Regions from separate parts of the Homo sapiens genome. Here all the other regions are linked to region 3. The links are contacts of gene promoters, found by promoter capture Hi-C in blood cells and fetal thymus (Javierre and others, 2016). All regions are on one chromosome and are shown on one strand. Each heading gives the region's core, a stretch centred on a gene start or on the middle of the fragment in contact. The rest is flanking DNA. Distances are from core to core; before and after follow the strand shown. Region 1 has its middle 100 kb from the start of ZPLD1. Region 2 overlaps TFG (trafficking from ER to golgi regulator). Region 3 holds the start of ZBTB11-AS1 (ZBTB11 antisense RNA 1).

Region 1 (4,359 bases), core at 52-2,551, 860 kb before region 3:
ATTCCAGCCAGCAGAAAGGTAGAAAAAGACAAGGGGAGAAGAAAATGCATGTTCTTCATGAAGGCATGGCACCAAAGTTAGCACATATCACACAGTTGATGCCACACTTAAGAAGCTAGGGCATATTTGGCTGTATAATCATGTACCAGCACAAAGTTCTATTGAAAGAAAAAGAAAAACAATGGTTATTCTGGGATAAATAGCAGAATCTGCCACGTCTGGGTTAAACAAAATTGATAATTTTATGCCTGATAACCCCCATGAAAAAGGCTCTCGTAACAAAAATCTCCCCTCTCCCACTTCATACCCTAAACTCTTGGCTAATTTCTTTAATCATGTTTATTCTAAACAGCCCTCAAAATAAAATGGAGTTATTATTTGGAAGGCTGAAGTGAGGATAGATTTCGTTCAAAAAAAGATAGCATAGAAAAAAATAATGGAGGTATATTTTCAAGGTTTCTAAGTACTTGAATTCAATCATTTTTAAATATGATTAAAATTTAATAATTTTTTAAAATTTAATCACCTGAATTTTTAAGAATGAATGGTTTTCTAGTCTCAGAATATATGCCTTCTTTATCTGTATCTATGTGTTTGGTTAAAACCTTTTTATCTCCTGTGCCATTTTGATCTATTGAGCAAGATGAAATCAGTCTCTATCCTTTGTTTCTACCATTTCTAATCGATCTATTTTTATTATTAATAATAATAGTTAACATTTTTGAGTACTTGCTGCTTAATTTATTTCTCCCAAATGCCCAGTGATGTATGCACTATTGTTATCCCTAGCTCACAGATTACAAAATTGGAACTAGCAAGGGCTATAGCCAGGATGCCACCCAGATAATCATCTATTGAGCAACCAACTAAAACCCTATGCAGTGCTTTATCAAGCTAACAAGCTTTTTGTACAAAAACAGAATCAGGGTGGGTGATCAAGCATAAAGCATTCAGTACAAACAAACACTGCAGAAGAAATAAAAGATTGTTCACAATAACAGAAAAACTAAAGACAAGAAAAATTTTAAGCAGTCTTTAGTGTTTTTAATTCCCTAGTTCCAATGCTTCCTAACCAAGAAAGACCATGAACAGACCACTTCGGTTCTATACAGAAATGAAAGTAGAAAATGCAAAATATTTTCATTAATGAAAATCCCAGAATTATTCAGAACTGGCAAATGATAATATGTATGGTTTTAACTAATCATTTTTCAAGAGTAGATAACAGGTTCCTTGATAGAAATCCTTGGCTTGTTTTCATTTCTAAAATGTGTGCTGTTGACTTTTCCATCACATTGCTCTAAATGAACAGGAGAACGTGGGCTGAGCCTGAACAACGAGAACTCTAAAAGCGTGCGCAGGTAGCACATTTGTGTGTGCAGATGTTTAGAAGGAAAGGTGCTCCCAGGAATTGCTAACCAGAGGATTAGAGCTCAGCACCAGACAAGCTGTCATTTTCTGTGGTTGTATTTCTGAGCTTATTTACTAGGTGGCGATATAATCTTAAAAATAAGCATTAACATTTCGGTGCCAAAGTGTCAGCTCTCCAGTTTTTTCACTGAAGCGTTTTTCACTTCCACTCCTTCTTTTCTTTGGCTCTTACTTTTGCTGTCTTTCTCTGAAATTTTGTGTCATCTGCTTTATTTTCATAACAGAAAAACTATTAAACCATAAAAGCTGGCTTGAGAAAGAGAAGCTTGAAATCCCTCAGTAGTATGATCTGAATATAGAAATATAGGATCTTCAGTCTTTTGCTATCAGCAGCTCCTGAGGGCTGACTAACAGTCAGATTTATTTGCTGCATATCTGGAATTCTTTTTATTGCTAAAACGTTAGAGAAGTAAACCCATTTTCTGGTAAATGGGTAAACATATACACATATATATCTTTCTCAATACTCCTAGAAATAGACCTCCTTGAGACCAATGAAAAGCAATACATTATCAAATGTTTTTGCAAATCCAAATCCTCCACGCTTACTTCCTCTATCTCATCTTCACACATCACACCACCAGCCTCAAAGTGTATAGTAATTTTGGAAGAACTTACAGAATTATGAATAAGCAAATATCAGTTAAGGTGCTTTATAAAGAGTTAAATGGCATTCAAATACTAATTACTATTATTTTACAATATCCAGTTCTATCATCCAGGGACAAGGTAGGGGATATCTTATCTGGAAATTAGAAATAAGAAGCCTTCTTTTTTCTTGCCTTTTAAAATTATCTTGAGAAAATATCATCCCACTGGCCTATAGATGATGACCCAGAAAATGCTACCACTACAAGTTCATGTAATTACCCACTAATGTTACATGGTCATCTACTACACAGCATTGTGCTGGACATTATGACACTGTGAGAATTACTGAGGAAGATAAACCATAATCTCTCACCTCAAGAAGCACATATGTTGGTAAAGCACAGTAAACACAGTAGTTCTGACATAATATTTCTGCACTCAGAGCTCAGAGAGAGTAGGGAAGGCAGGAGGAAGTTGAAAGAAAAATAATAGATGATTCAAACTTGAACACATCCTGGAAGGATGGGAAGGATATTGACATGTGAGAAGGGGAAAGGTGCAAGAGGAGAACCTTCCAGACAGATTGACCTTGCAACTGGGATTGAACAAGTGTTCATTTAAGCCAGAATCAATGAGGAAAGGTAATGTGGGTGGATGCTACTTAAAAGGGGGAAACAGAGAAAGATTGGCGGAGTGGGGTTTGGATTGTGGAAGGCCATGAGAAGCAAGCAGAAGAGTAGATTTAATTTGACAGCAAACACCATTTCGAGGAGCACCAGAGCAACACTGTGAAAGAGTTGTTTTAGAAAAATCAGCCTATGCTGGGCCCGGTGGCTCACACCTGTAACCCCAGCACTTTTGGAGGCCAAGGCAGGGGGATCACCTGAGGTCAGGAGTTGGAGACCAACCTGGCCAACATGGCAAAACCCTGTCTCTACTAAAAATACAAAAAAATTAGTTGGGCATGGTGGCAGGTGCCTATAATTCCAGCTACTTGGGAGGCTGAGGCAGGGGAATCGCTTGAACCTGTGGGGCGGAGGTTGCAGTGAGCCAAGATCCTGCCACTGCACTCCAGCCTGGGCGACAGAGTGAGACTCCATCTCAAAAAAAAAAAAAGAAGAAGAAGAAGAAGAAATATCAGCCTAGCCATGAGAGAGGAAGGGATTAGAGAGGAAAACAAGACAAAACAGCAAGGTGATCATTCATGCATGAGAAGGTCTGGGCTAAAAGGACAGCAGTAAGGATATATTCACAAAAGTAAATATGAGAGCAATGTCAAAAGAAAATAATGCCTAAAATCTAAGACTGACTGATTTGGATGAATGAAGGGGACAAAAGTTACTCTTGTTAACTGGGATAATGGTGGTTTCACTGAAAGAGACTATGAAATTTGGGAGGGAAAGACAGTAAATGTGGCTCTAGAAATGCTATTTTTGAGGTGACCATAGGAGACTAAGTATAAATTCCAATAGGCAGTATGAAATGTGATTTCATAGCTAAAGGGTTATAGAAAAATATGGGCACCAACATAGAGGTAATTGTTGAGGAAGGAAAATAAGAATAAAATAATTCAGCCAGCCAATTCAGTATGATTGTAACATCTATATTTTAGACACTGTGAAACACTAGAGTGAGAAGACACAGAGATGAATACGACATCTCTGGAAAGAGAGACACTCTGAAGTGTTTACAATGCAATAAAATCAATTCTATATCAAAAGTGCTAAGAAAAGGAAGAAGAAAGAGAAATCAATCATGCAGAGAAAGCTGAAGGAGAGGAACATTCTCCTAACTTGTTCCAAGAGCAGACTAGAGAACACTAAGTGGTTTAGAAACATGTTTCTTCCTTCTTGTCAGAAGAAATAGTATCTGGAACAGCATAAAGATATGAAGGAACACATCTTACTCAAGAAAGTATTAATGATCAAAAATGACTAGAGCTTAGGACACACAGAAAGAGTGGTGGGAGGTGGACTCAGTGAAGAAGGTCAAGGAGAACTCATAAACGAACTGTAATGAGTTTAACTCTATGGGGAAAACACAATGGAAGCTTAGTAAGAGAGAGTGACAAGACCTGGATGTTGAGTCTTGCCAGTTTTGGGGGAGAAAAGCAAAGGAACCAGAACGAAGGAAAGTGATAGAGACAAGTGGAGACAAGGAAGTGGAAGTGATGGAGAGAGTGGTGAGTGAAAGTGATAGAGAATTTGAGTAGAAAGCTAAAAGGAAGAAAGTTTTGCAGAAAGGAAGGAACACACAGTCCTGGTGCTTAAAATTACTTAAGAAAAAAACCTATTTATTGTTTATTAAAATGTAAGTGTCCTATGATAACGAGTTAGC
Region 2 (4,442 bases), core at 162-2,661, 940 kb after region 3:
CTGGACATGTTACATAATCTCTTTCTGTGCCTCAGTTTCCTCATCTGTACAAAGGATATACTAATTCCTACTTGATAAGGTTATTGTGAGGATTATGAGTTTACAAGAGCTTATAGCATGGGCTTATAAAAGGAATTATACAGCAAAAGCTTATAAAAGTGACTACTACTCAGAAAGTTCCATATAAGTACTTGCTATTATCAGCAGACTAATTTCTCTAAGGGCAAACCTCTATCTTCTGCTCTGATGTATCCCCAGAACTTACCACAGTATTAGGCACAGTTGACAGCTGACAGTCCAAGTATTAATAAGAACCTAAACTAGGATATAATAGTGGTAATGCAAGAGAGACTGATGATTGCCAAAATAAAATGGATGATGGTTTCTATCTACCACCATTTTACTTAAATTTATATCTATGTAGATAAATACACACATTCTTCCCACAAAAGACACTGTTATTAGCCTAAATATATATATTTATTACTTTGGCTCCTCTTTCCTCCCTTATATGTAATTTATTACAGTTAATATTCATTCCATGTTTGTAATATTTTATCCCTCCTTCCCACTGCCACATTCATTATTCTAATAAGCCACATTTTTACCACATCACACCTGAAGAACTACAAAAGTATCCTAGCTATGCATACAGTTTTTCCTACTATAATTCAACATACAAAGCTGTGAGAAAAATGGTCTTCAAATAATGTGAATCATATTAATATTATTCTAGTCTGGAATATACTACATTTAAATCAAAATTTAAAAGTCTGACCTCATCAAATTTTCACACAATTCTCTTTTGTGAGTAATTCCATGAAAGTCTCTAAGAAATACAAAATGGACTGTACACATTTCCAACTACTGATAAAGGCAAAGTAAATCCATCAGATAAACTCTCTCCCAGGTAACAACTAAAAACATGAACAAAACAAAAGAAACTATTTGAAATAACTGAAAGTCAATCAGAAACCAGAGGAGTTTACCCCAATAAAATTAGAATGGATAAGAATTAAAAGCGCTGACCTCTGCAGCTCCAATGGCAGAAAACCACAGTGTTAACAACCTTATGGCTAGACAAGCAGCTGAAGATTTAGGAGGAAAATCCCGGAAGTGAAGGTGCTACTGAAAGGGTAAGACCCACGATCTAGGTATATACACTCTGTCCAAATCCCCAGCTGACTATAGGGCTGGGAGAGCAGACGAGGATATCTCAAGAAGGCTCAGAGAAAAATGCAGCACCTAGAGCAAGCTGAAAGGACTGAGCATACATATCAGCTGCTATACACCATAGGGAGAAAGAAGGAGCAGTTTTGAGTATGTGAAAGTTATCAAAACCAAAATGAAGTCATTAATGTTAAAAAAAAATTAAAAACTCTGATAAGGCCATGAAGAGAGGATTCTTGCAAAAACTATCACAAAAGAGTTCAAAAACCACAAGCCTACACAAAGGCCATCACAACTTTGCAAAAAAAAAAGCAAAAAAAAAAACTTCTGTGACTGTGAGGACATCTGCCCAGAAACTGCCTGTCCAACCTCAGACTGGCATCACTCTTGCTAATGATCTTTGTAGCCAACAATAATTATTTCAAAACAATTATATATTCTCCTCATTTTTTCCTTTAAAAACCTTTGTCTGCCTTTACCTCACTGAATATGCACATAGTTTACTATGGCATGCATATTTTCAATGCAATGCTCTATTCCCAAATACCTTTTTCTTTTAGAGAGCGCTTTTCTGTTTGTTATTTATGTTAAGTCCATACAAATCAACTCCCTGCTAGATCAACAATAACAGAAAATCCTCAAAAGAATATAAGTCCAAGTCACTACAACATATTAACCAGAATGTCTAGTTTTCAACCAAACACTATCAGACAGGCAAAGAAACAGAAAAATGTGACCCTACTGGAGTTGGGGGGAGTGTGTGTGGGGGAGAGGAACCCAGTCAATAGAAACTGACTCCAAATGGGTCCAAGTGTTACATATTGCAGATAAACATTTTAAAGCAGCTAAATATTTTTAAAGAATCAAACATAAATACATTCAAACAATTAAAGGAAAATATAGACTTAATGAATGTAAAATAAAGAATCTCAACAGAAAAACAGAAACTATAAAAACCCAATGGAAATTCTAGAGCTGAAAGCACAATTAAACAATTCACTAGAAAGGTTCCACAGCATATTAGAAATCACAGCGACCTTGAAGAGTTCAACAGAAATCACCCAACCTGAAGAACAGAGAGAAGACTGAAGAAAAATGAACCTTAATGACCCATGAGACAGTATCAAGCTCTCCAATGTATGTGTTATTAGAATCCGAAAAGAGAAAAAGCAGGAAAAAATAATGAAGAAATTATAACCAAAAGTTAAACAGAATAAAACAATATAGGTACTGCTTTAAGGTTAAAAACTTATTTATATAAAAACCCACTGTATACTCAAGCAATTTAACAAGAAAATCTACATTTAATTTTCAATTTCTCTAAGATGAGGAGATAAGACAAATCAAATATAATTCGAATACTGCAACTAATCAAATTATAAAATAGTTCAGATTTTTAAAAACTTTCTAAATTTTACTTTCAAAAATTTACTTGAACCCAACAGTGCTTATTCTTTAAGGGGGAGGGTGCTACTCTTGGGGAGAGGACATAAGAAAGCTTTCTGAAGTGCTGGAAATCATCTACATCTTAATCTAGTTAGTCTTTTACATAAGTGTACACATATGTAAAAATTTGTTAAGCAGAACCCTTAAGATTTGTGCACTTCACCATATCCAAGTTATTCTTCAATTAAAGAAAGAAGGAAAGGGAAGAACGGAAAGATGAAGGAAACGAAGGGTGTAAAGGAGTTGGAAACCAACTTACCTGAAACCTGATCATCTGTTAAGCCAAACGCTGACATAACATTTTTATTGATTTCATCTTGGTTTTTTAAAGGATCAAAAGCAGACATACTTGCTGCCATAACCTGAGTAGACTGTTTTCCAGAAGAATCAGAAGCAGACTTTTCTTCCCTACCATCCACAGTATCTGTAAAAATAGAGGAATAAACAAAAACTTGTTTCCTTTTTATCTATATTCAGTAAGGCCTAAAAGTACAAGGGAAATAATGCAGGTGTATAATGATAGTCTGGAATGTTAAGCATGTCGGAATATAGGATTACAGATCATTTTAATTCCTTTATTTTTTTTATATTTTTCCTTCTAGTAACAGGGAGAAGAGGGCAAAAAGAAACAGAAGATGAACAAAAGCTTTCCAAAAAAATTATTTACCTCCTTTTGTAAGAAACATTAGATGAAAAAAATACAAGCTCCTTGATAAAGAGAAACATTTTACTTTTTTTGGTTTTTTTGGAGCCCAATAACCTATATCCTAGTATCAGATACCCACTGGGCACTCTGGAAATAATAATTATAGGAACTAAGGCTTTATTTTATAAAAAGAAACTGAACTAAGGTTATAATCTCAAATTTTACATTTTATTTCTACTGTCTACTGGTCCACTATTAAATTACATGGAAATCAAGCCAACCATAATTAATTCATAATCTTCCATAAATAGCACATTAAAAACATTTTTGAATTTGCTACCTTCTATTTTAATATGTATTACTTATTAAAATACTTATTAAAATGCTTACAGATGAAATGATGTATATGGGATCTGCATCAAAATAATACAGGAGGGGAGCCGGGTGCAACAGCTCATGCCTGTAATTCCAGCACTTTGAGAGGCCGAGGTGGGTAGATCACTTGAGGTCAGGAGCTCGAGACCAGCCTGGCAAAACCCAATCTCTACCAAAAATACAAAAATTAGCTAGGCACAGTGATGCATGCCTGTAATCCCAGCTACTCAGGAGGCTGAGTCACGAGAATCACTTGAACCCAGGAGGCAAAGTTTGTAGTGAGCTGAGATTGTACTCCACTCTGGGTAACAGGAGGGGCGGAAATGTGTATAGTGTAATTATATGATACTATAAGTTGGTAACTGTTGAAACTGGATGTGGGTTTCTGGGATTCATTATAATGTCTACTTTCTTATATACTTAAACTTTTCTATAATAAAATGTTTAAAACAACAACAGAAAAACAAAATGTCAAATATTATGAGCAGGTTAAATTTAAAATCATGCTTTTCTTCTCAGGATACTAAGATATTCCACAGGCATTTATACTACTGTCTTGTGAAAGAAAAAGAGTTCAAGAATTTTAACATACATTTTACAAATAGGAATCCAAGTCCAAGATACAAAAGACATCAAAAGAAACAAACAAAAAACACGAACAAGTAAACAAAAAGACTGTTGCTAACCATTTACTCAATTAAGGGACAATGATTATCACTTTTGTTACCAAGCAAGTAAATGAACATCAGTTCTTAGATCACCCCTGTAATCAATACAAAATGTATCTTCTGAAAAAAATGTTAAG
Region 3 (4,702 bases), core at 955-3,454:
GCCTCAGCCTCCCGAGTAGCTGGGACTTCAGGCCCAGTAGAGACAGGGTTTCACCATGTTAGCCAGGATGGTCTCCATCTCCTGACCTCGTGATTTGCCCGCCTCGGCCTCCCAAAGTGCTGGGATTACAGGCGTGAGTCACCGCGCCCGGCCAAAATATTTAAAGACAGTATGACAGGAGAGTGGGGTTGGCCTGACACGTAGACCAGCCTCCTGGGTTCGCAGAGGGTGCATTTGGTCTTCTGCTCTCACTGCCCGACCCCATGGGGGAAAGAGGTGCATCTCCATTTTTAAATTCCTCCTTTGAGCTATAGTGGCAAACTCAGCAACTAAGTAGATCCCAAGCCTGGTAGTTTCTTTTTTCTTCTGGGCCTTGAGAGCTCATGTCCCCGCACCTGGAATCTTTCAAGGATGTCCGGGCCATCCGGGAATTACTGCGTGTGCACACACACAAAAACACGCCCCTAACACCAGAGGCTGGCTGTATGATTCTGTTTTCGAGCCTACTGTATTCACCTGTCTGCCCGTCAGCTACTTCTAGGAGCGTCAAAGGGCCTCACCCAGAGACTACAGACCCTCCGGTGGAGAAGTGTACTAGGCCGTGTCTGCAGCTGGAGCCCTCGGCCTGAAATGTTCTGGCTTTAGCAAAGCGGCGACAGTGTCCAACCCCAGTCCCCGAGGAGGGATGTCAGCCCTGGGCCCCTGTGAGCGCTGCAGATTCGTCCCAGGAAAGGGTGACCGGGGTCGCTGCTCCGGGATTACCAGCTAAATACCTGTATTAGCATCCTCAGCACGCACTGGGAGACGCAGCTCAAGTCCGCTCCCCTTCTTGCACCCTCATATATATTTGGTGCAAAATGGAGAACCTTTTCCCCTACGTTTGTGTAAAAATATATGTAAATAAAGCCTTAAAATAGTGTTACCGACCCCCTTTTCCACTCGCAATAACATTGACTATAAATGCTGATAATTCCAAAAGAATCTCGACTCTTCCTTGAGTAGTCTGGAGCTAGCAGGTGCAAGTTTAGAAACAATAACTCATCACTGAGGGAGGCACTGAAAATTTTATAACTGTTAACTGGAATCTAAATTTCCATGTAAATGGGCTGTCTCTGGTCCCGTGTCAAGAGACTAATATTTTTCCAGAAGCCTGAAAATATGCTTTTATGATGTTGGGAGTCTCAAACGTAAAAACGGACTCCTAACCCTCTGGATGTTTCGGCTGAACTCTCAACTGTCCACCAGCTCCCCCTACACGTGGCTCCTTAGAAAGCGTGGAAAAGGGAAAAATGAAAAGAGAAACTGCCAGGACTTAAGATGTCTGCTTAAAGACTCCCTCGAACTGCAGTGAAGGGTCCTACCCGCTTCCAAAATGTCCACCCGCATTCCTGACGTCACTGGATCGGCTCCATCAAGCCAGAAAACGAGAGTGCGCTCCAATCAGGGCTCAGTCCCCGCCCTTGCCTTGCGTCACTTCCGGTGGTGCAGCAGCCATTTTGTCAGTCGCCAGCGGATCCCGCGCGCTGGAGAAGTGCAGTTCCCCCTGGTTACCAACTCGCCCGCTTTTCCTTCGGACTAAGGGAGCCGTCGAAGAGCGCTCGCCAAAGGCGCAGCCGTTTCTCCCTACGGTGCCGCCGCTCCTCCTGCAGCCGCCCGTAGGTAGCGGGCCGTTTTCCTCACCTGTCCCTGACAGGCGCCCTCAGGGAGCCGCGGTCCGCGATGTCAAGCGAGGAAAGCTACCGGGCCATCCTGCGTTACCTGACGAACGAGCGCGAGCCGTATGCGCCGGGCACCGAGGGCAATGTCAAGCGTAAAATCCGAAAAGCTGCCGCCTGCTACGTGGTGCGCGGCGGGACTCTGTATTACCAGCGGCGGCAGCGGCACCGCAAGACCTTCGCGGAGCTGGAGGTGGTGCTGCAGCCGGAGCGACGCCGGGACCTCATCGAGGCGGCGCACCTGGGTCCCGGCGGCACTCACCACACCCGGCATCAGACCTGGCACTACTTGTCCAAGACGTACTGGTGGCGAGGTGAGACCTAGCCCGCGGCGAGGGGGCGGGCTGGCGACTCGTTGCCTGGGCAAGGCTCGCTGGCGAGGCCTATGCGTACCCACGAGTCGGAGGGTCTCGGACGCCTCTGGGCGGCGGAGCTGCTGCCAGGCGGAGCCGAGAGGGTGGGGGACGCGAAAGGAGCCGCACTTCCCACAGGAAGGAGGCCGGCGAAGCTGGGGGCGGGCCCTGGCCCTGGGTGGGACCAAGGGGGCTTCCCCGGAGGCCGGGCCAGCCGCGGGGAGGGGCCGGACGCCTGGGCTGCGCCAGGTCCGCCTCCTTGGGCGGCCCCTTGAGGCTGTAGGCCCCGGCCCTCTGGAGGTGGCGTGTGGCTCGCGGCAGTGGAGGCTGCGGGGTGCACGTTTTCGACTGTGCTGACGTTTGGAAGGGGGGACGAGTCACCCGAAGCCGGGTCTCCCGTTTCTTTAGTGCTGCGCTTGGGTTTTGGCGAGCGAGTATGAGCTGCTCTGGACACATTCGCTAGTGTTCCTCAAATTTTGCCGCTGCTGCGTAAATAAGGAATAATACAATTATTTGCAGAAGTGATAAGGAGTGATTGAGAAATCGCCTTGAGCGTTTTTTTTTAAGAACAAGAAGTAAATGTAAAAGATATCAGTTACTGTTTTTGTTGTTTGGTTTTGCGGGGGCGGGGTGTTTGAGTAGACACGGGTCTCGCCTCGTTCCCCAAGCTGGTCTCCATCTGGCCTCAAGCCATCCTCCCGCCTCGGCCTCCCAAAGTGTTGGGATTTCAGGCATGAGCCACGGCGCCCAGCTTGATATTCGTAACTCTGAATGTTTTAATAATCTTTCCCCTAATGATGTGAAAAACGCGTTTGGGAACTGTGTAGCATTGTATATACGCAGAAAAGGTACGATTACTGTGACTTTTTGATTGTCAAAAAATACAGCTCTGAAGTTACTTGACTCCTTGGGAACCAGTTGTAAGGGAGGATAGCAAGTGTCCTTGGCTTCTTAACCATCTTCACTCTCCACAGTTAATGAATATTCAAACTGTCAGAATTAGTTAATAGTTTATAGTCCCATTTAAGAAATTTTGTTAGGAACAGTGCTGTCACTCTCCAATATGGCTACAGAAAAGTTATTTCATTCAAATCTTGGTTACTTCGTCTGTGAATAACGAAATTACTGAATAGTTTCTAAAGTTCTTTTCGGTTTATAAACATCATCAAGTTTATTCGTTTACGAACTATTGGATAATCAAATTCTTCCATTTATTTTCCACTTTAAACCAATATCTGAATTAAATTCCTGTAAGGACAGACAAATGCGAAGATTAAATTATGAGGTAATGAAGTAATCAGTGCATTTTGTTTGGATGGGTTTGGGTAGACATTAGTTTGTTGAACAAATGTCTCAGATTTAATACTTCAGGATTTGTTAAAGATGATAATTGTAACTATAGGTAACATTGATCAAGCTTGTATATGCAGGATGTAGTCGTTAGCCCTTGACATTTATTTAACCTTCATAAAACCTTAATACTTATCTCCCTTTTTTGGAGACAGAGCGTAGGGGGTCTTGCTTGGTGCAGTGACAACGATCACAGCTCACTGTAGCCTCGACCTCCTAGGCTCAGATGATCCTCCCTTTTCAGCCTCTATCTGTTTTACAGATGAAAAAACTAAAAGCACTAGGATGTTAAATAACACAACAAAAGTCACACAGCTGACCTTTGTGATCTCACACTTTTCTTAACCCAGTGTTATGTGGTATTTTGTGTTCAGAATTTTTCTTTTTCTAAGTTCATTATCTGTGAGTGATTCTAATCCAGTTGTTTTTTTTTTAATTTTTAGTGTGCAGTGTCTTAAAAGGCAAAAACCTGAGACGATGTTTATTTATTTATTTATTTATTTTATTTATTTATTTATTGAGACAGAGTCACTCTGTTGCCCAGGCTGGAGTGCAGTGGCGCGATATCGGCTCACTGCAACTCCACCTCCCGGGTTCAAGCGATTCTGGTGCCTCAGTCTCCAGAGTAGCTGGGATTACACCACGCCCAGCTAATTTTTCTATTTTTAGTAGCGACGGGGTTTCACCATGTTGGCCAGGCTGGGCTCGAACTCCTGAGCTCAGATGATCTGCTCACCTCGACCTCCCAAAGCGCTGGGATTACGGGTGTAAGCCACAGCGCCCGGCCAATACAACCTCTTTTGGTCTCTAAATCTACACTCATATAAATGCTTTTTTGATAAAGTTATATTTAACTCGAACCCATTGTTCCTTTCTTTCTTTTCTTCTCTTTTTTTCTTTGAGACAGAGTCTTGTTCTGTCACCCAGGCCGGAGCACAGTGGCGCGATCTCGGCTCACTGCAGCCTTCGCCTCCCAGGCTCACGTGATTCTGGTGCCTCAGCCTCCGGAGTAGCTGGGACTACAGGCGCGTGCCTCCACACCTAGCTAATTTTTGTTTTGCTCTGTTGGCCAGGCTTGTCTCGAACTTCTTACCTCAAATGATCCGCCCACCTCAGCCTCCCAAAGTGTGTGAGCCACGCCCCAAGCCCCATTGTTTATGTTCTGCAAAAAAAAAAAAAAACAGTCTCTGTGAATCCATAAATTTGACAAATTCCTAGGTTAAACAGGTTTCTTCACCGTAGAAGTCAGAGGTTCTAATAATAAATGTCAATTGCATATAGCTA

What was found. Contacts are between HindIII fragments. The CHiCAGO score rates a contact against its expected background, and 5 or more counts as called.
Region 1: a contact is called between a fragment that was not itself captured here and the fragment with the promoter of ZBTB11-AS1 in region 3, in 2 of 17 cell types (total CD4 T cells and activated CD4 T cells). The highest score is 6.4, in total CD4 T cells.
Region 2: a fragment that was not itself captured here is called in contact with the fragment with the promoter of ZBTB11-AS1 in region 3 in 2 of 17 cell types (monocytes and erythroblasts); the score reaches 8.1 in monocytes.

What each region holds. Positions count from the first base shown.
Region 1 is chr3:102,533,810-102,538,168 of GRCh38, reverse strand. No RefSeq gene overlaps it. Among named protein-coding and RNA genes, the nearest start is that of ZPLD1, 100 kb to the right of the region's middle. RefSeq lists a silencer at 1,350-1,644. The HindIII fragment of the contact is 794 bases long and covers 905-1,698 here.
Region 2 is chr3:100,731,106-100,735,547 of GRCh38, reverse strand. TFG (trafficking from ER to golgi regulator) reads right to left here. Exons shown (of 8, transcript NM_006070.6): 5 at 2,876-3,040. Among named protein-coding and RNA genes, the nearest start is that of TFG, 24 kb to the right of the region's middle. The HindIII fragment of the contact is 2,519 bases long and covers 152-2,670 here.
Region 3 is chr3:101,673,932-101,678,633 of GRCh38, reverse strand. It overlaps ZBTB11-AS1 (ZBTB11 antisense RNA 1), which reads right to left and starts at 2,204. Exons shown (of 1, transcript NR_024407.1): 1 at 1-2,204. ZBTB11 (zinc finger and BTB domain containing 11) reads left to right here and starts at 1,502. Exons shown (of 11, transcript NM_014415.4): 1 at 1,502-2,029. The coding sequence starts at 1,720. LOC124906262 (endogenous retrovirus group K member 5 Gag polyprotein) reads right to left here and starts at 2,189. Exons shown (of 3, transcript XM_047449415.1): 1 at 396-2,189. RefSeq lists enhancers at 1,810-2,364, 4,258-4,702 and a silencer at 2,081-2,450. The HindIII fragment of the contact is 10,842 bases long and covers 1-3,487 here.